Linked DNA regions of Homo sapiens: regions 2 and 3 are each linked to region 1. The links are contacts of gene promoters, found by promoter capture Hi-C in blood cells and fetal thymus (Javierre and others, 2016). All regions are on one chromosome and are shown on one strand. Each heading gives the region's core, a stretch centred on a gene start or on the middle of the fragment in contact. The rest is flanking DNA. Distances are from core to core; before and after follow the strand shown.

Evidence for each region. Contacts are between HindIII fragments. The CHiCAGO score rates a contact against its expected background, and 5 or more counts as called.
Region 2: a fragment that was not itself captured here is called in contact with the fragment with the promoter of PITHD1 in region 1 in 5 of 17 cell types (neutrophils, total B cells, monocytes and 2 more); the score reaches 8.6 in neutrophils.
Region 3: the fragment with the promoter of SRSF10 here is called in contact with the fragment with the promoter of PITHD1 in region 1 in 2 of 17 cell types (neutrophils and monocytes); the score reaches 7.9 in neutrophils.

What each region holds. Positions count from the first base shown.
Region 1 is chr1:23,776,778-23,779,697 of GRCh38, forward strand. PITHD1 (PITH domain containing 1) reads left to right here and starts at 1,641. Exons shown (of 6, transcript NM_020362.5): 1 at 1,641-1,936; 2 at 2,661-2,704. The coding sequence starts at 1,739. ELOA-AS1 (ELOA antisense RNA 1) reads right to left here and starts at 1,520. Exons shown (of 4, transcript NR_038280.1): 1 at 1,422-1,520. RefSeq lists enhancers at 365-1,317, 2,571-2,920 and silencers at 1,571-1,880, 1,971-2,020. The HindIII fragment of the contact is 11,008 bases long and covers 1-2,920 here.
Region 2 is chr1:23,910,530-23,913,567 of GRCh38, forward strand. It overlaps CNR2 (cannabinoid receptor 2), which reads right to left and starts at 2,833. Exons shown (of 2, transcript NM_001841.3): 1 at 2,717-2,833. RefSeq lists enhancers at 1,702-1,871, 2,645-3,038. The HindIII fragment of the contact is 3,555 bases long and covers 1-3,038 here.
Region 3 is chr1:23,978,469-23,981,674 of GRCh38, forward strand. It overlaps SRSF10 (serine and arginine rich splicing factor 10), which reads right to left and starts at 1,859. Exons shown (of 6, transcript NM_054016.4): 1 at 1,723-1,859; 2 at 245-349. The coding sequence starts at 1,787. RefSeq lists enhancers at 1,086-2,076, 1,314-1,363, 1,794-2,123, 2,077-3,067, 2,134-2,183. The HindIII fragment of the contact is 15,744 bases long and covers 1-3,206 here.

The DNA of each region.
Region 1 (2,920 bases), core at 391-2,890:
CCTTGGCCTCCCAAAAGTGCTGAGATTACAGGCATGAGGCACTGCATGTGGCCCAGAAAATATTTCTGAATGGAACTTGAAAAAATGGATATTTTGGTCTATACTTCACCAGCCCCACTGAGCACTCCAGAGCCAGATGTGAAGGGAAGAGGGTAGCCAGGGTATCCCATAACTCTCTTTCTGTATCCTGTCTTTTCCCCACCAGGGAGTAGGAAAACATTCTATCCTGAAAACAAGATTATTTCACCTCTAAACAGTGACTTTTAATTATTTTGATCTCAACCCACAATATGAAAAACACATCATATTGTGTCTGAATACAAACTCAAAACTGAAACAAAAGTTTCATCAATTGAGACTTGAAATGTGTGATACATTCTGGGTTTTTTTTTTTTTGTATTCTATTTTTTTTTTAAATGTTGATCACAATTCTCTATAAACGGATTTTAAAACCTATTGACAGGCCACAACCAGCTGTTCGAAAAAAAGTACTTTGAAATATCACATGGGGGAGGAAACGCAGAGATCATCTAGTCCAATCCCTTCACTTCACAGGGGGTAAACTGAGTCTCAGAAGATCAAGTCACTTGCCCAAGGCCACGCAGCTAGTAAGTTGCTGTGGTTGGATTTGACCGTAATAACCATCGGCTACTGAATGCCCATCATGTGTCAGCCATTTGCTGAGTTTTTTCTTTTTTTTTCTTTTTGAGACAGAGTCTTGCTCTGTCGCCAGGCTGGAGTGCAGTGGCGCGATGTCGGCTCACTGCAACCTCTGCCTCCCGGGTTCAAGCGATTCTCCTGCTTCAGCCTCCCGAGTAGCTGGGACTACAGGCTCGCGCCACCACGCCTAGCTAATTTTTGTATTTTTAGTAGAGACGGGGTTTCATCATGTTGGCTAGGATGGTCTCGATCTTTTGACCTCGTGATCCGCCCGCCTCGGCCTCCCAAAGTGCTGGGATTACAGGCGTGAGCCACCGCGCCCGGCCTGCTGAGTTCTTTAATTGCATTATTTCATTTAATACTCACTGTGATCCTATGAAACAGATACTATTCTTTCCACCTTACAGACGGGGAAACGGAGTCTCAGAATAGGGGAAATGACTTAAGGTGTCACAATGGCCAGTAGCAGACCCAGGAGTAGTCTTTAGGTCTGGCCGTGCACAAAGCCCCATGCTCTCAAGCTGTAACCCCGCTATCAAGAAAGTGGTTATGCAAGTGGGCCTGTGAGCTCTCAACGTCTAAGCCGTGCGCATGTGAGACAGCGATAAGCTCGCGTTCTCCAGTCTCCAGGGCCTTATCATTCCTCACGCTTTCCTTCATCGGCTCGCAAAGAAACGTGGCGATCAAGGAAGACAGCGAAGGCTCCATCCTCGTCGGGGGAGGATAATTCGAATCTCAGCCTGTGAGTTTACTCAGCACACCTGTTTAATCTCTTGGTCCTTCAGTTTCCACACCTAGGAAGCTGGAACAGCAGCAGCATCCAGCGCCAGGACTGGAGTCATATACGAACTCTGGCACCTGGGAGGCGCGCGTCCTACGTCAGTTCCGCTCGACCCCACCCCCCCCGCCCCCCCGCCTTCTCCCCACGCGCATGCGCCGCGCAGCGGCGCTTTTTACGACGCGGCAGGCGCGGCGCGCTTAGTTGCCGGAGCTGAACGGCGCGGAGCTGGTCTGAGGCGAGCCGAGCCGAGCGAGCGCGGCGGTGGGGCCGAGAGGACGCGCAGGTGGCGGCGTTGCCATGTCGCACGGTCACAGCCACGGCGGGGGTGGCTGCCGCTGCGCCGCCGAACGGGAGGAGCCGCCCGAGCAGCGCGGCCTGGCCTACGGCCTGTACCTGCGCATCGACCTGGAGCGGCTGCAATGCCTTAACGAGAGCCGCGAGGGCAGCGGCCGCGGCGTCTTCAAGCCGTGGGAGGAGCGGACCGACCGCTCCAAGGTGGGCCGCCTGGGGCTTGGGGCGGGCGGGGCAGGGTGCGTGTGGGGCCTCGGGCCGTCGGTCTACTCATTTCTGATGTTAAGAATAACGACAGCCTGGTTGCCAAGCGCTTTTCCGTGCCTGTCTCCTGCCAGCTCTTTGGGAGGCGAGCAGCGTTGTCTCCCCATTTTGCATATAGGGAAACTGAGGCCTAGAGGGAACGGGGACAGTTTTGTCAAGCTACACAGCCTAACGCTCTATTCCAGGGCTGTGTGGGCTAGAGAGGATGGTCGTGAGGGCCGTTGGACCATTGGTGCTAATGGCTGCCTCATCATATTACCTGGTGAAGATGAGCCTAGGGAGATGAAAGGTGGTTCCCATATAGAGCAAATGTTCTTTACATTGTGGGGTCGCAGGCCCCTTTGCTATCTGTTTGAAAGCAGTGGACCTTCTTCTCAGAAAAATGCACATAAACACCTGCCTTTCAGTTCACACTTCAGAAGGCTCTTCGACCCTGGAAATTCATTCATGGGCTTTTTGTTAAGAACCTTCCAGTTGGGTGGCCTGTGGCTGTTATGACACTGGATAAGACTGGTTAGCTTCAAGTTAATAAGTCTTGGAAAACCAAGGGAGAGTGACTCTTCCCATTGCACCCCAGTTGTAGAGCAGGGTGGGAGATGCCTGAAATTGTAGGCTCTCAGCAAATATTTGTTGCTTTCTCCTCCCCCCTCCCCATCCCCTCCAGTTTGTTGAAAGTGATGCAGATGAAGAGCTTCTGTTTAATATTCCGTAAGTATCTCCTTGGTGCCTACCTCAGGCTAAATAGGCTGTACCCAGTTGCCTCAGATGGATTCATTCACTGGTGTCAAGAGCACACATTTGCTTCTAGAAATGGGATAAATTACTTTGGTGGGTTTGAGGAGGAAAGCATCATAGCTTTCTTGGTGCAGACTGGAAACAGATGTATTTGTAGAACAATAACTGAGAAATTGAGGTAGATTTCTT
Region 2 (3,038 bases), core at 275-2,774, 130 kb after region 1:
TGTCATCCCAGCTACTTGGGAGGCTGAGGCAGGAGAATCGCTTGAACCCAGGAGGCAGAGGTTGCAATGAGCTGAGATTACGCCATTATACTCCAGCCTGGGCAACAAGAGCAAAACGCTGTCTCAAAAAAAAAAAAAAAAAAAAAAAAAGAAAGAAAAGAAAAGAAAACAAAACAAAAAAACAAAAAACAAAAAACAAGAGCCCCTTTGAGGCAGGTTGGGAATGCTATGATAGCGTCATTTTTAGAGTTGAAGAAACTGAGGTTCAGAAAGGTGATGTAACTTGCCCCAGGTTGCCTGAGTAATTGATGAGGGAGACTTGGGTTTCCATGTGATTCCATGTGATTGATAGCACAAGCTCTGAACCCACAGCGCAGGACTCTCTGCTCACACTGGCTCCGCTATTCCTTGGCTGTGTGACACTGAGCAAGTCAACACTGCTGCTGAGTCTTGGTTTTTCTCATCTGTAAGATAGGGCTGCCTGTCTCTTTTCAGAGTGCCCTTTGTGTCTCGTGGCTCGGGGACTTTTTTCAGGGGTGAGAGTAGGAAGCAGAAGCTATTTGAAGACAACCCTTCTTCCTGTCCTTTCCTGAGAACCTGAGCGCAGTGAGAAGGTTAGGTCACGTGGGTGGGGGGTGGGGAGAGAAGAGTGTCCATCTGCCATCCACAGCCAAGGGGAGAGGAGAGATTGTCCTTGGCTGGGAGGGGACCGAGGTCTTGGGCACCTAGAATTTGCTTTCTGGGAAGATGGCAGGACCTCTGGGGGAAGTCACTGGGTGATATATCCTGGATGTCAAAATGAGACACAGTGGTTTCAGGTCTTACAAAGAATCTGGACTCCAGGCATGCCAGGGAAGTGGGCAAGGCTGGACTTCAGACAATCAAGTCCATTTGGGCAATGGGCATCCATCGTAGGAGGACCCAGGAGCCTCCCTCACGCTTATGTTCTGTGTGTCCTCTGGGTCAATGTGCATGGGTGGGGATGGGAGTGAGGGAAGCTCAGTGCACTTGGAGATTAAATTTCCTCCTAGCCCAGTAGGATGAGGCTCAGGGTCCTATTGAATGTGACTTCAACTGAATAAAGAAAAGATCAATTTATGCACACCCGAGGGTGTGCAGTAAGAGTGACTGGTACTGTAAAATGAGGTGGGAAGAGAGGGGGCTGGCGCTGGAGGGCTCTGCTTGGCTGAGCCAGGCTGCCATTTTCCCGTCTTCACTGCCTTATCCTGGCCTTAGCCGGCCAAAGGGTAAAGGATATGCTTCACCTGCCCAGCGCAGGTTAGGGGGTCACTCTGGTAAGCCACAAGGTGGTTACAGAGCTGGGGCCAGGATTATTGGGACTCCACCTCCTGAGCTCTCCCTGAACTTCTCCCCAGCCTCCATCCTGGTTTTCATGCTGCCAACGTGTCTACTTGCCACTCATTCCAGGGAAAAGCAGCCAGGCCTCATTTTATCCTCATCTCAGATCCACAGCAAGAGCAGATGGGGTGAAGATCAAACTCTCCACCACAGCCATTCCCGAGCCCTGTGCTGCTGCCCGCCCTGTGCCCGCATCAGACAGTTGACTCGCAACAAGCCTGTGAGTGACCTTCTCAGGCCCATGTTTCTCAGAAGAGGAAGCTGAGCAGGAAAGAAATGGAGTGATTTGCATTAGGCCATCGAGCTACCAGTGGCAGAGCTGGGATTCAGACCTGGACGCTGACCCCAGGGCACACTGGAAAATACTGCTCTTCCCTCCGCTGAGTGGAACTTACACCAAAGCAGACCCCTGGCCTCCTGAGTCCAGTGTGCCCCTAACACTACCTTGTGGTCTCCCCATCTATAAAATGAGAGCGCAGGACTCACCTGGTCATCTCAAAGGCCTCTGCCAGCCCCTGTCATTTCCTGGCCCCCATCTACTGTTGCAGTCCACACCTCGTAAGGCAGGATAGCCTGGTGGCTGAAGGGTGGGCCGCGAAGCCGGAGTGCCTAGGCTCAAGCCAATGCTCTCATTCAATGCCCGCATGATTTCAGGTGGGTCACCTAGCCCCCACCTATCAAGTGGACAACAGTGATAGCTCCTACTGCATACGGCTGTTGTGAGGATTAAATAAATCCAACCACTAAAGGCTCTTAGGGCAGCGCCTGGCACACAGTAAGGCCATCTCTGTGTGTGTGATTCTTGTCTCTGTAATGAAATGAAAGCCAAAGTCCTGATTCTTGGTCCTAGGAGGGGGATGCCAGCCCTGAACTTTCCTGCGACTGGTCCTCCACAACCCCAGGTGTCCTGAAATGACATCTATCCCCTGCCCCAGACAGGCCCACCTGGCTTCTTGTGTCCCTGGAGGGAAGGGATAAGGTAAGAATACAGGTTTTGGCCAGGTGCAGTGGCTCATGCCTGTAATCCCAGCACTTTGGGAGGCCAAGGTGGGCAGATCACCTGAAGTCGGGAGTTCGAGACCAGCCTGGCCAACATGGTGAAACCCTGTCTCTACTAAAAATACAAAAATTAGCCAGACGCAGTAGTGCACACCTGTAATCCCAACTACACGGGAGGCTGAGGCAGGAGAATCGCTTGAACCTGTGAGGCTGCACTGAGCCGAGATTGTGCCACTGTACTTTAGCCTGGTCAACAGAGCAAAACTCCGTCTCAAAAACAAACAAACAAACAAAAAAGAATACAGGTGTTGGGGAATGAGGAAGAAGCCTAAAATAAACAACAAAAAAAGCTACTCACGGTTGTGTTGTGGGTGGCTGGGCACTGGGAGCTGCCGGGGGCTGAGGAGTCCCAGTTGTTTTCTGTCCTCTCCCAGGACCTGGCCGTGGGTGCCACTCAGAGCACCTGTTGAGTGCCACCCCAAGCCAGCTTTCTCTTGCTTTTGTACTTTCTCACAGATGAGTGAGTGTGAGGAGGTCTGGCCTTCCGTGCCTGTTACCACTTCCCCTCCAGGTCCCTGGTGCCACAATGCTCTTGCCCCTGCGGTTGAGTTATCTCTTACAACGAACTCTGGCCAGGGTGGGGCATGGGCCTAGACCCTGGAGTCAAGGGACTTGGGTTC
Region 3 (3,206 bases), core at 609-3,108, 200 kb after region 1:
TAAATCACATATATAATCATCGATATGAGTTTCAGAAGCATGAATGGGAATTTATATATTTTACCATTTTTGGATTAACTTTAATAACGAGAGCAATGTGTGAGTCAGAATTAATTTTCAAAAATTTGAAGACAGACATTTATTAGAGGACAAAAAGAACTACTTTTTAGATGTTACCACTTACATAAACTTGAATTTCAAACTTCAACACCCCTCACTAATCAGCCATCTGAAGAAAGGATATTGAACATAAGCAAATCCTCTTGGACGGCGAGTGTAGAAATCAAGTGGAACATACACATCAACTATAGGACCATAACGACCAAATTCACGCCGCAAGTCTTCAGACCTAAAACATCATAAAAAGACCTCAAATTTTTATGTCCAAGTCCTTAAGATGTATAGGCAATATATCTTTTTGATGAAGGAAAGCTAGGATCCAAGAATTTGGAAGATAAAAATGCAGTTTACATTAACAGGACAACAGCAGACATATGTATGGTACAAGGGAATGACCACAACTTATTTTTATCTACAGCCGTCATTTTTCATAAAAGGTACAGCAGCATTAGGTTGTATATAAGCCTTGTTTTTTTTTTTTTTTTTACTTTTACAGCATCAAATCGACTCTAGCACTCTGAAAAATACCAAGCACTTATTTTTACTCCCCAATTTTAGCGACAGATTTACACACTTAACAGTAGATAAATATGGTCTGAAAAAGTCACAAATATCGAACTTCTTAAATAGTTAAGTGTCAAGATGACGTAAAGAGAAAATTTCTCTAGATGCTAACGTAACTATTAGAAATTATGGAAAGAATTATTTATGGAAAGAATTATTGCTTTCTTTCCTTCTTAAATTTAAGACAAAAGCAAATCACAAAGCTAGCAAAAAACCCCCACGAAACACCAAAAACCCAAACCACTTATTTTCTGTGTGTAGATTCATTATTTGTGAAATAAAAAGCCTCATCTTGTAGTAAGAACTCTTCCAAAATAATCTGAAGGCAACTCGAAACAAGGGAATGGTGAGAACAAAGCCTATTTAAGGTACGTCTGAATTAATCTAACTTAGCTGTCAACGTCCTAATGACTGACGCTTCCCAAACCTCCCTTTTCAAAGGGTGACCAGAATTTCCAGGAAATAAGAAAAACTACTCGCAACATTTAACTGGAAAAATCTAACTCCCCAAATCTCAACGCTCCCTTTCTCCAAACACCTCCAACTGATTAAAACCCCCAAATATTAACAACGGCAACAACAACAAAGATAAATGGTAGCAACATTCCTCTCCCTCGATCCCGTTATTTCATCTCACTATTTTTTGGCTGGGGAAAAAAAAAAATCTCTGGGCCAAGGGGGCGTGAACCTCGAAGAATGTGAACTTCAAATCAATGGGGGGCGGCCGTCGGGTCGCGGAAAGGCCGCGGCGGGGGGCTGCTCGCGCCGGCAGGAAGCAGGGAGAAAGGGGCTGCAAACTGCGGAGGGGGAGGGGGACCGAAAAACCCCGCCACGCGGCCCGGCGAAGGCAGAGGCGCCGCCCTCGCTCCCACGCGGCGGCTGAGGCCCGCTGCGCGGCCTAGTTCGGCGCCAAAGCGGGCGCGGGACCCGCCATCTTCACTCCGTCCCCTCCCCCGGCCCAGTGCCGCCACCACCAGGGTCCTCTCCAGGCGCCTGCGGCCTCCCCGCCTAGGCCCGGAGTACCTGCCTTGTACCTACCTGGTGTCGTCGGCCACGTTCCTGACGAACAGAGACGTGTTGGGGGGACGCAGGTAGCGGGACATGGCGGCGGCGTGTCTCGGCCGGGCGCACTAACGGGCTCAGCAAACCGTCCGCGGCTCAGGCGGCCGAGCCTCAGACACACACAGCTAGAGGGCTCTGCTACGGCAACCGACTCTTCTCGCGAGACTTCACTCCCGCCTCCACTTCCCCCTCCTACCTCCGCGCAAAGTCGGGCGCAACGGTTCTTTCCCGCGAGAACACCAGGCGTCCGCCTGCGCATGCGGAGGGCTGGCGCACGCGCCTCAGCGTCGGTGTCATTCGTTGGCTTCTTGCGGTGCCTCTTACCCTCCCCCAAGCCTGTTCTTTCTTTCTTTAGGTCTTCATTTCCCGCCGTTTTCTACCTTACACTCCACTTCATCTCCACCCCCAAATCAGGAAGCAGATGTTTTAGTCTCTAGGCCAAACTTTGCGGTTACTACTAAATGGACAGATTTTTAAACTATTTAGTTCAGAGAGGCTGCCTTAAATTTCCCGGTTGGTCCAAGTTAATGTCCTGCTTTTATTTTGCCTTAAATTTCCCGTTTGGTCCAGGTTATGCCCTGACCTGCGAAAGAAGGATTTACAGCTTGTATTGAGTGTGTAAAGGAAGGAGGTGTGTGCCCTTGCGCAGAGCTGGGCCTGTCTCTCCAGTGTTTTCAGCCTGCCTTTGCCCCTCACCCACACCCTAGCCATCTCCACTTAGTCACGCATTTGGCTCCCAACCTGGGTGGGACCAAACCTCACACTGTAGGTTCATGACTGTGGTCATTTGTAGTGTATTCTTTGTTGCTGACGGCTTCCTGGGTATGCATCGGACCTGTATTGCAGCAGTTCTCAAACTTTTTGGTCTCAGAACGCCTTTATATTCTTGTGTATTACGGAAGATTCCAAAGAGCTTTTTTTAAAAAAAGTGTGGGTTATACCTATTAATAAATAGTTAATGAGAACTTAAAATAGAGGAAACTTCGGCTGGGCTCGGTGGCTCACGCCTGTAATCCCTCCCTGTACTTTGGGAGGCCGAGGCGGGCAGATCACGAGGTCAAGAGTTTGAGACCAGCCTGACCAACACAGTGAAACCCCATCTCTACTAAAAATACAAAAATTAGCCAGGCGTAGTGGCGCGCGCCTGTAATCCCAGCTACTTGGGAGGCTGGGGCAGAAGAATCGCTTGAACTCGGGAGGCAGAGGTTGCAGTGAGCCGAGATTGCACCACTGCATTCCAGCCTGGGCGACAGGGTGAGACTCCGTCTCAAAAAAGAAAAAAAAAAAAAATAGAGAAAACTTTGACACACTCCACTACCCTTTATCACACATCATGTACCCTCTGGAAAACTCCACGTTTGTAAGAGAATGAGCATGAAAATAGCAAATAATCTTTAGTATGGTTTTGATTTTGGAGGCCCTTTTGAGAGCCATTTCCTGCTCGATAAGAGTCAACTTCT